Linked DNA regions of Homo sapiens: region 2 is linked to region 1. The links are contacts of gene promoters, found by promoter capture Hi-C in human tissues and cell types (Jung and others, 2019). All regions are on one chromosome and are shown on one strand. Each heading gives the region's core, a stretch centred on a gene start or on the middle of the fragment in contact. The rest is flanking DNA. Distances are from core to core; before and after follow the strand shown. Region 1 holds the start of ELAVL1 (ELAV like RNA binding protein 1). Region 2 overlaps ADAMTS10 (ADAM metallopeptidase with thrombospondin type 1 motif 10).

Region 1 (5,430 bases), core at 786-3,285:
TAACAATTAAATGTTAAATTTAACATTTAATTGAGCTAGGTGTGGTGGCACGTGCCTATAATCCCAGCTACTTGGGAGCCTGAGGCAGAAGGACTGCTTGAGGTCAGGAGTTAAACCTGTGGGATGATTGCACCTGTGAACAGCCACTGCACTCCAGCCTGGGCAACACAGTGAGACCCAATCTCTAAAAAGCTTTCCTAGGCCGGGTGGTGGCTCATGCCTGTAATCCCAGCACTTTGGGAGGCCGAGGTGGGTGGATCACTTGAGGCCAGGAGTTTGAGACCAGCCTGGCCAACATGGCAAAACCCCATCTCTACTAAAACCACAAGAATTAGCTGGGTGTGATGTTGCACGCCTGTGATCCCAGCTACTTGGGAGGCTGAGGCACGAGAATCACTTGAATAGGGAGGCAGAGGTTGCAGTGAGCTGAGATCACACCACTGCATTCCAGCCTGCACAGCAGAGTGAGACCCTGTCTCCAAAAAAAAAAAAAAAAAAAAAAAAAACTTCTAAGAAAATATGATTAAAAAAAGAAACAGGCTGGGCACCGTGGCTCCCGCCTGTAATCCCAACACTTTGGGAGGCCAAAGCAGGAGGATCACTTAAGTCTAGAAGTTTGAGACCAGCCTAGGCAATACAGCAAGACCTCATCGCTACAAAAAAATAAAACATTAGCCAGGCATAGTGGCACATCCTGTAGTCTAAGCTACTCAGGAATCTGAAGCCGGAGGATTGATTGCCTGAGCTGGGGAAGTTGAGGCTGCAGTTAGCTGTGATCATACCACCGCACTCCAAATTGGGTGACAGAGTGAGATCCTGTCTCAAAAAAAAAAAAAAAAAAAGAAAAACAAAATTGTAGGCCAGGCGCAGTGGCTCAAGCCTGTAATCCCAGCACTTTGGGAGGCTGAGGCGGGCAGATCACGAGGTCAAGAGATACAGATCATCATGGCCAACACGGTGAAACCCCGTCTCTACTAAAAATACAAAAATTAGCTGGTTGTGGTGGCGCAGCGCCTGTAGGCCCAACTACTTAGGAGGCTGAGGCAGGAGAATCGCTTGAACCTGGGAAGCGGAGGTTGCAGTGAGCGGAGATCACGCCACTGCACTCCAGCCTGGCGACAGAGCGAGTCTCCGTCTCAAATAAATAAATAAATAAATAAAAATAAAAAGACTATTATTTTCAGATCATAAAAAAAAAAAAGAAAAAATTAGGCAGAGTGCAGGCATGCCTGTAATCCCAGCTCTTTGGGAGGCGGAGGCAGGAGAATCGCTTGAGTCCAGGAGTTCGAGACCAGCCTGGGCAACAGAACCAGAGCCCATCTTTACATAAAAAAAAATTAAACATGTAGCTTGCATGTATTTCTACTAGGGCATTCTAGGCCAGCGCTGGTTTAGAATGTTAGCCCAATAAGACCAGGTATTTTTTTTCTGCTCACTGCCCATACAGTGATTGACACACAGTAGGCGCTCAATGACATTTTAATGAATGAATGAGATGCTGAGCCTTCGGGAACTGGCTTGCTCAAAGAGCCAGCACCGATGAAGCGCTGACCACGTTCCATGCCCCGCCTCCTCAGCGCACCAGAGAAGGAAACTGAGGCCCGGCAAGGTGACGTCAGCTCCTGCCCAACGGCACGTAGTGCGGAAACGTCGGGGCCGGGATTCGAACCCAGGTTCTGTACCCGTAACCCCGGCGCGCTGACCTTTCCTACCTTACCGGGCGGCGGCAGGACAGACAGGTGCGGGACACACGGCGAGCGCTCAACCAGAGGCGCCGCTCCTCAGCCACCGCCTTCCGTCAGCCTCCGAGGGCCGGAACCCAGTTCGCCCCCTCCGCGGCCATCGCTGGCTGCCCGCGTCTCCGCCGGCCGCGGAGCACTTCGCAGGCGGCGCCGACCGGAAGTCCCGCCTCTCCCGCGCGCCCCGGAGCGCCGCGACAGCTACGCCGGCCAATGAGCAGCGCGCCGTGGCGGACGTCGGCCAATGGGCTCGCGCGCGGGGGGGGCGTGTCCGGGCCGCGGGCCGGAGCGGGTCGTGCGCGCTGAGGAGGAGCCGCTGCCGCCGTCGCCGTCGCCGCCACCGCCGCCACCGCTACCGAGGCCGAGCGGAGCCGTTAGCGCCGCGCCGCCGCCGCCTCCCGCCCGCCCCGGAGCAGCCCCGGGCCCGCCCGCCCGCATCCAGGTGAGGCGGTGGGGGGCCTTCGGCGGCGCCCGACGGGGTAGGCCGCGGCAGGCCTGAGCTCGCCTGGCCTGGCCGCGGGGCGCCCGCGGGCCTGCACCGGCCGAGGCCCAGGCCGCGCCGGACCGGGGGAGGGGACGCGCGCTGGGGCCGCGGCGGGCGGGTCGGGGCGGGCCGGTGTGGGCGCCGGCTACAGGCCCCGGGGCCGGATTCCTCTGGCGCCTCGAGGGACGGGCGAGGGGGATACGGCGTGGGCATGCGCCGGGGGGCCGGGCTGCACGGCCGGGGGCCCCGGTCGCCTTGGAAGCCCGGGCTCCGGGGGCGGGAGAGTGGGGCCAGCTACGGGGGAGCGCCGGGAACGCTTTGAGCGCGCAGAGGTCACGGCCCACGGGCTTGCTCCCCCGGGAAATCCCACAGATTCTTTTGTGGTCGTTGTCAGAGCACCGCGGCCGGTGCGAGGTCCTTTGAGAAGTGTGCAAACCCTTCAGTAGATACACGGGAGTCCTGGGGGAAAAAAAAAATCTAAACTGCATCTTTTTTTGAGCGCCATCTCTAACAAAGCTGTTTGTGGGGCGTGGGACGTTAGGATTTGTAAAATATGTGTGTGTGCCTGTTGGAAACACAAGCTGCACACAGTTGAACAATGGGGGATGGATGCCCTTCCTTCCTTTTCCGGTGCTCTGGGCTGCGGGGCTTGTTAAAATGGGTTTTGGTCCCTACTGTGTGCAGGGCAGGTGGAGAAGAACTTCTGCACAACTTCTGCATGGGCTTCCCGTGGTGGGACTGAGCCCCCTTGCTAGAAAGTGTTCATCTAAGATCCGGATGGCCAGAAATGGGAAGATGAGGAGAATGATCTGTCTAGAGCAGGGTTTCTCGACGTTGGCCCTACTGATGTTTGGGGTCAGATAGTTTTTGGTTGTGGTGGTAGTGGGGGCTTCCCTGTGCAATGTAGGAAGTTGAGCCGTATTCCTGGCCTCTACCCACTAGATGCCAGCAGTATCCCCATGCTCCAAGTCGTGAGGATCAAAAGTATCTCCAAACATTGCCAGATGGCTCGGGTTGCGGGGGAGGGGTCTCTTCCACTCTCACACGCACAGGTGAGAACCATTACTGAACTAAATGCTCTTCCTCCAAAAGTTCTAATGCCCTGGGAGATGCTCCCAAGACCTCGAACAAGCTTGACTCTGTTGAGCCTTAGTTTTCTTATCTATAAAATGGGAAGGACAAAAGTGTGGTGCAAATTGAAGAGGGTGGAAATCCCGTTGCGTTGTGCGTGGTCTGTGCCTGGTAGGCACTGAATAAATGATGTTGTACATAGCCACCAGTATTTATTGAGGATTTACTATGTGCTTGACACTTTGTGGACGTTTGTCTGCAGTCCTTGAGGCAGGTGATGTTATAATTTCCATTAATTTCCATTTTAGAGATGAAGAAACTGAGGCTTAGATGGGTCACTTGATGTGACCAGTCTCATGCACTAAAGTGGCTGCGCCAGGGTTTGAACTCGGGCCCTCTGATTCAAAACCCTTACTCTTAACCACTCGATTGTACTGCTCCTATAATCACAAGGCTCCAGGGCACTCCAGTTGTCATCGAATATTTTCTGTGTGCAAAGTTCTGTGCTGGGATCTATTATCAAATTCTGCAACTTCGAGGCCCACAAAGAGGTTGAGATACACGAACGTCTCAAATGTGGAAGGAAATAATACTGTTTATGTTGATGCATTGGTTTTGAGCAGACAGAGTTTCAGTCTGGATGTGTTGAGTCTGAGATCATGGTGCTATTTCTTTTTTTTTTTTTTTTTTGAGACGGAGTCTCACTCTGCCGCCCAGGCTGGAGTGCAGTGGTGCGATCTCGGCTCACTGCAAGCTCCGCCTCCCGGGTTCACGCCATTCTTCTGCCTCAGCCTCCCGAGTAGCTGGGACTACAGGCGCCGGCTACCACGCCCGACTAATTTTTTGTACTTTTAGTAGAGACGGGGTTTCACCGTGTTAGCCAGGATGGTCTCGATCTCCTGACCTTGTGATCCGCCCGCCTCGGCCTCCCAAAGTGCTGGGATTACAGGCGTGAGCCACCGCGCCCGGACCATGGTGCTATTTCTTTTTTTTTTTTTTTCTTTTTCTTTTTTTTTTTTTTTTTTTGAGACAGTTTCACCCTTGTTGCCCAGGCTGGAGTGCAGTTGTGCCATCTCAGCTCACTGCAACCTCAGCCTCCCAAGTAGCTGGGATTACAGGCAGCCGCCACCACGTCCAGCTAATTTTTTGCATTTTTAGTAGAGGTGGGATTTCGCCTTGTTGAGCAGGCTGGTCTCGAACTCCTGACCTCAGGTGATCCACCCGCCTTGGCCTCCTAAAGTCCTGGGATTACAGGTGTGAGCCACCGCGCCCAGCCCATGGTGCTATTTCAAGTAAAAGAAATGAGAGAATTATGAAAAAACTTTATGAAAATTTCTTGCCTCTCTCACTCTCCGCTTCCCATCTCTTCCCTCTTTCCACACTCCAGCAGGAGTTCTGTTCTGTAAATGCACATCTAATTGTATCCCTTCTGATTTAAAATCTTTGTGCAGAAAAAAGACACGTTTTCTTGACCTCTCTGGTGGCTTAAAAGATAAAGCTAGAAGCCCTTAGTTTGGAGTGCCAGTTCCTTCACACCCTAACCCTCCCCGCCCCTGCACGTAGACCCCAAACTCTAACCCTCCCTGCCTGTTGCAGCCTCCACCTGGAGACAGATCTCTTCCACCTGGAGATCCTTTGCTTATGCTCCATGGCTCAGCCCAGAGCTCACTGGCCGTTTGAAGCCTCGTCTGACTGCCACTCTTCCTCCACCCGCACCGGAATCAACTGTTCCCTCCTTAGTGTTCCCATCCCATTCAGTTTATTGAATCGAATTCAAGGCTGAATGGCGAGAGAAGCGCAGCGCCCGGCTGGCGCCCCTAGGTGGCAGTAGCGAGGCGGTGCGGCCGACCCGAGCTGTGGGTCAGGGGAAGACCAACGGAAGCCAGCCTGTGGGAGGGAAGTGAGGCTCGCTCCCTCCTCTGAACGACTCTCCCTGCTCCGCTGCTGTGTCCTGGGCCCCCGCTAGGCTCTGGAGAGTGTGCATGATGTGTGTAGGTCATCTCAGCCCACTCTGATGAGTGCTGTGAGAATTATGCCCTGGCTGATGTGGAAGCCCAGAAAAGGGACCTGGGTGGGCACAGGAGAGCCCAGAATGCTTCCTGGAGGAGAGGAGGCAGTAGCGGTGGGGAGGAGCTA
Region 2 (5,430 bases), core at 1,471-3,970, 590 kb before region 1:
CAGAATTTCCTGGGGGTTTCCAGCCCGGTGCAGTGGCTCACGCCTGTAATCCCAACACTTTGGGAGGCCGAGGCGGGTGGATCACCTGAGGTCGGGAGTTCGAAACAAGCCTGGCCAACATGGTGAAATCCTGTCCCTACTAAAAATACAAAAATCAGCTGGGCGTGGTGGCGGGCACCTGTAGTCCCAGCTACTCCGGAGGCTGAGGCTGGAGAATCGCTTGAACCCGGGAGGTGGAGGTGAGTGAGCCAAGATTGCGCCACTGCACTCCAGCCTGGGTAACAGAGTGAGACTCCATCTCCAAAAAAAAAAAAAAAAAAAAAAAAAAAATTCTGGGGATTTCCAGACGGGGAAATGATTACCCAGGGTTCCAAGATCCCTGCACAGCCTGGCCTCTGTCTTCTGTGCCAGCTCATCCCTGGGGCTGCTTCCTCCTTTCCTCTGACCACTGTCTCCAGAGCCTCCTGCCCTCACAGTTTTACTTTCCTGTGGTGATGGGCAAATTGGTACCTTCAGACAGCTGTGGAATGAACTCAGACATGTATATCCCTCAGGTCGCCTCTGGACAAAGATGCTTGAGGCAGTCAGGGGGGTAAGCAGGGGTTGGGGGACAAGTAGATAAGCTGAGCTTGGAGGAGTCTGAAAGAAATGTTCTGGTAAGCAATCCAGACTTGAGTCTCACTTCTGACACCTACCAGCTGTGTCCTAACCTCTGTTTGCATGTCTCCTCATCTGTAAATTGGGGATGATAATAGCACCTGTTGATGAAAAGACTGATGCATGGCCAGGCATGGTGGCTCACACCTGTGATCCCAGCACTGTGCCAGGCCAGGACAGGAGGATCGCTTGAGGTCAGGAGTTCAAGACCAGCCTGGCCAACATGGTGAAACCCAGTCTCTACTAAACATACAAAAATTAGGCGGGCATGGCTGGGCACGGTGGCTCACGCCTGTAATCCCAGCTACTCGGGAGGCTGAGGCAGGAGAATCGCTTGAACCCAGGAGGCGGAGGTTGCAGTGAGCTGAGATCACACCATTGTACTCCACCCTAGACAAAAAGAGCAAAACTCTGTCTCAAAAAAAAAAAAATTAAGTGGGCATAGTGATGTGCGCCTATAGTCTCAGCTACTTGGGAGGCTGAAGCAGTAGAATCATTTGAACCTGGGAAGTGGAGGTTACAGTGAGCTGAGATTGCACCGCAGCACTGCAGCCTGGGCAACAGAGCGAGACTCCATCTCAAAAAACAACAACAACAAATAGTAACAACAGCAAATATTACCTATTCATGAAAAGACTGATACATGGCTGGGCATGGTGGCTCACACCTGTAATCCCAGCCCTATGGGAGGCCAGGCAGGAGGATCACTTGAGGTCAGGAGTTCAAGACCAGCCTGAGCAACATACCAAGACCCCCATCTTTAACAACAACAGCAACAAAAAACCCTAATAGCAGGTTTAGCCTAAGACCCGACACACAGTAGGTGCCTGATGAAAGCAAGCTGTTATCATTGTTTTTGCTTTTCATTTTCTACCCTGGGCTCCTCTTAAGACTCGGTCTCTCTTGTTTCTTGGAGGTCAGGTTGCCAAACTTTTCCAGGACTCGAGTCTGGGAAGCACCGTTAACATCCTCGTAACTCGCCTCATCCTGCTCACGGAGGACCAGGTGCGGGGGACTTCCTCCCCTTCCCCTTCCCCTTCATACCAGCATGTCCTGCCGTCCCCTGGGTGGTGGGTGCCCATGCATTTCCCTCTGTCCATCCCCAGCCCACTCTGGAGATCACCCACCATGCCGGGAAGTCCCTGGACAGCTTCTGTAAGTGGCAGAAATCCATCGTGAACCACAGCGGCCATGGCAATGCCATTCCAGAGAACGGTGTGGCTAACCATGACACAGCAGTGCTCATCACACGGTGAGGGGACAGGAGAGGTCTAGGACTGGGGCTGAGAAAACAGATGGTCCAGGGAACCATGAGAGTCCAAACAGAGATCACTTCTGCTAGGGTCAGGAGGAGCAGAGAAGTTTGGGCTGCCCATGAGGGAGCCAGGGATGGGGAGGGGCTGCTTGAGAATAATGGGTAAGGGAGGTTTGGGACCATTTGGGCACCGATGCCCTCATTCACTTATTCTCCCACTCATGCATGCATGCATGCATTCATTCATTCATGTGGTCAGTCACTCCTGTATGCAGCTTCAGGTGAGAGGCAGATGGCGCCTCCAAGGCAGGACTCAACCCCCAGAGCTGGGCATGGTGGCATCAGCAGGGCTTAGGGAGACAGCCCAGCCCCCTCACTGACCCTGTCTCCTTTTACAGCTATGACATCTGCATCTACAAGAACAAACCCTGCGGCACACTAGGTACCCGAGCCCCGTAGGTTTCAGGCGCCTATGAAGGCAGTGGGCTGGGGTGAGACCTGGCAGGTGGATGGGGCCAGCCAGCACCGTCCTGAGCCTCCCAGCCCCATCCCCACATGTCCGTCTTCCCAGGCCTGGCCCCGGTGGGCGGAATGTGTGAGCGCGAGAGAAGCTGCAGCGTCAATGAGGACATTGGCCTGGCCACAGCGTTCACCATTGCCCACGAGATCGGGCACACGTGAGGCCAGGGCACACAAGAGGGGGAGGAGGGGAGGAGCTGGGCGGGTCCCTCAGCGCCCGGCAGAGCCGACACCCCTTTCCCCAGATTCGGCATGAACCATGACGGCGTGGGAAACAGCTGTGGGGCCCGTGGTCAGGACCCAGCCAAGCTCATGGCTGCCCACATTACCATGAAGACCAACCCATTCGTGTGGTCATCCTGCAGCCGTGACTACATCACCAGCTTTCTAGAGTGAGGATGCACCTGGGTGTCCCTCAGAGCGGGTCACACTCATGGTGGGGCAGGGTACACGGGAGACGATAGAAATCAGGGATGCTCCCTGGGACCCCCATCCAGCTGAGGCTCCTGAGCTCTTGATTTGCAGCCACCTAGCATGACAGTTGCTTTTCTCTCGAGGCAGCTCGGGCCTGGGGCTCTGCCTGAACAACCGGCCCCCCAGACAGGACTTTGTGTACCCGACAGTGGCACCGGGCCAAGCCTACGATGCAGATGAGCAATGCCGCTTTCAGCATGGAGTCAAATCGCGTCAGTGTAAATACGGGGTAGAGAGAGTCTTCCTGCTTTCCTTCCTGGGAGGGGAGGGGGCCGCTGGGGCTGGGGGAGGGAACTCCACCAGGGCACCCACCTGGGAAGTGAGGGGGTGGGAGAACCGGGAAGGGGGGTGAGGTGAGCCCCCATGGTGACCTGGGAGGACAGAGGTGCATGGAGTGTGCAAAATGTCCTAAGCAATCAGACAGTGCTTGGGAACAAAAATGGGATCACCTGCTTCTCCAGACCCCTGATTTGAGGGCTGGGCTGGGGGGCCAGCTTCTGTCTGGCACATCACACCCCCTGTGGGCTACAGCAGGATCAAAGTCTCAAGACCTCTCACGGGGCAGTTTTTAACTAAACATCCAGTCCTGACGGAAATAATTTCCCTGGGGATGAGCCATCTTTCCTACTTGGCAAAGAACTAGACAGAACCTTCCAGGGACTCCCTGTCTGGAGGAGCTCTGAGCCTCCTGACCTCTCCCCACCCTTTCCTGAGGTTTAGATTCCCAAAGCCCCATTCGTGCATAGAGAAGGGCATTGGGGGGCAGGAGGTTCCACTCCCAGCTCCCCCCAGGAAGCTGAAGACCTGCTGGCTTCCTGCTTCAGCCACCAAGGTTCAGCCAGGATCTGCTCCTCCTCTGCCCACCTGCCTCGATTCCCTAAATGCACCCCTAAGCTCCTCACAGTCTCAGCCCTAGGGGCCCAGGTTCAGCCCCAGTTCTTCACACTATCACAACTCAAACGATCAGAGTTTTTGTGATGCCATGTTAATGCAAAGCAGAGGGCAAGCAGCTGCCAAATTGCCCTCCCTTCATTCCACTGCAAGACAGAGACAAACCCTGGAACAATTTCTATTTCACTGACATTCCACCCTTGACACCCCCCAACATCCTAACTTAGCTGGTAACTGCAGCACCCTCTAAGGAATTCCTAAAGAATTCTGAAGCTACTCCTCAACATCTGCTGTGACCCAGGTATCCTAACAATGATCATGGTGTCTGACATTTACTGAGCTCTCACTATGGGCTAAGCATGTGCTGTGTGTCACCATCTAAACTCCTGACAATCCTGCTAGCCCCCACGTTACAGAGGAAGGGACTGAGCCATAGCATAGGGAGGATGACTTGTCCAAGGCCACAGTTTGAGACCATGACAGAGCTGGGATTTAAATCCAGGTCTCTCATGACTCTCTAAATTTTACAAAGGGGCAGGGGAGGGGAGGAGCTGTCAAAATATCAAGCTTGGGCTGGCACTGGCTATATGTTGAATTGAGCCTTCCTTTTAGTTTTTGAAGGAACATCTTTCAGGCCATCTTGGCAAAGGGGGATTTATTTACTAAATGTGAACTGGTTAATATATGTAAAGGGTTCAGCCTGGTGCCTGGTCCAGAGATAGTGGTGGTCATTGTTACCCCATAATGGCATTGGTGCAAGTCCTTTCTTATCTATCCTGTCACGTGCCTCATAGCCATTTATATAGGCAAGACAGGCATTAGGCTGCCCATCTTGTAGATGAGTAAACTGAGGCCCAGAGAGGGGAAATATATTGCAAGTTGGTAGCAGAATTGAGGTCTCTGCACAACTCAAATATGCCACAGTGCCTCCTTGTGGAGAGGAGGACAAAAGCAGAGCTGAAATCATTATCTTGAAGAGGTGTCAGAAGTGGGATTGCGACAGGACTGATGTGATATTTTTAGATATGGCCAAGAGGACACAGTCTGAGTTTTTAGCTGAGAAATGTCCTCTATAAGGCAGAAGGCAGAGATTCTAGAGGACCTTTGAGGGAGAATGTATTTGAGAACAACTCTTCCAGCTTCTTACATATGTACAGGTATCTCTCAGGGGCTGACCTAGGAAGGGTCCTTTCCTGTGGCCATTGATCGATCCAGTCCCACATCTGGAAAGCTTACAAGAATTGGGTTCAAAGCGGGGATTACACTTGATAATTACAGAAGGACCACCTACTTCTTAGAGGAAAGACGCTGGGAGGTTGCTTAGGATGTGGGCCAAGAGGGTCAGAGAGGACCACCTACTTTTTAGAGGAAAGACGCTGGGAGGTTGCTTAGGATGTGGGCCAAGAGGGTCAGAGATTTTGCTTCACCTGAACTCACTGGGGCTTCTCCAGGGATATTAACCTGGACTTTAAGAGTCAGAGTGAGTCCCTGGGACTAGTTCAGCCCATCCAGGATTCAGACGGGAAGAAGGTGGGGCTGATTTTTCACCTGGAGAAAGAGAGGCATGTCCCACACAGACCTAACTCGGCATTGTCCCCTCCCAAACTCCCACCCCTCCACATAGCTTAAAAGTG

Evidence for each region. Contacts are between HindIII fragments. The study calls those that stand out against the background at their distance.
Region 2: a contact is called between a fragment that was not itself captured here and the fragment with the promoter of ELAVL1 in region 1, in 1 of the 25 tissues and cell types used here (dorsolateral prefrontal cortex).

What each region holds. Positions count from the first base shown.
Region 1 is chr19:8,002,246-8,007,675 of GRCh38, reverse strand. ELAVL1 (ELAV like RNA binding protein 1) reads left to right here and starts at 2,035. Exons shown (of 6, transcript NM_001419.3): 1 at 2,035-2,181. It overlaps LOC105372266 (a long non-coding RNA gene), which reads right to left and starts at 1,863. Exons shown (of 4, transcript XR_936302.2): 1 at 1,718-1,863. RefSeq lists silencers at 1,660-2,149, 2,380-2,579, 2,610-2,659 and enhancers at 4,734-5,344, 5,345-5,430. The HindIII fragment of the contact is 8,326 bases long and covers 1-5,430 here.
Region 2 is chr19:8,593,466-8,598,895 of GRCh38, reverse strand. It overlaps ADAMTS10 (ADAM metallopeptidase with thrombospondin type 1 motif 10), which reads left to right. Exons shown (of 26, transcript NM_030957.4): 7 at 1,579-1,662; 8 at 1,764-1,909; 9 at 2,311-2,354; 10 at 2,484-2,589; 11 at 2,677-2,823; 12 at 2,993-3,134. Among named protein-coding and RNA genes, the nearest start is that of ADAMTS10, 15 kb to the left of the region's middle. The HindIII fragment of the contact is 8,071 bases long and covers 1-5,430 here.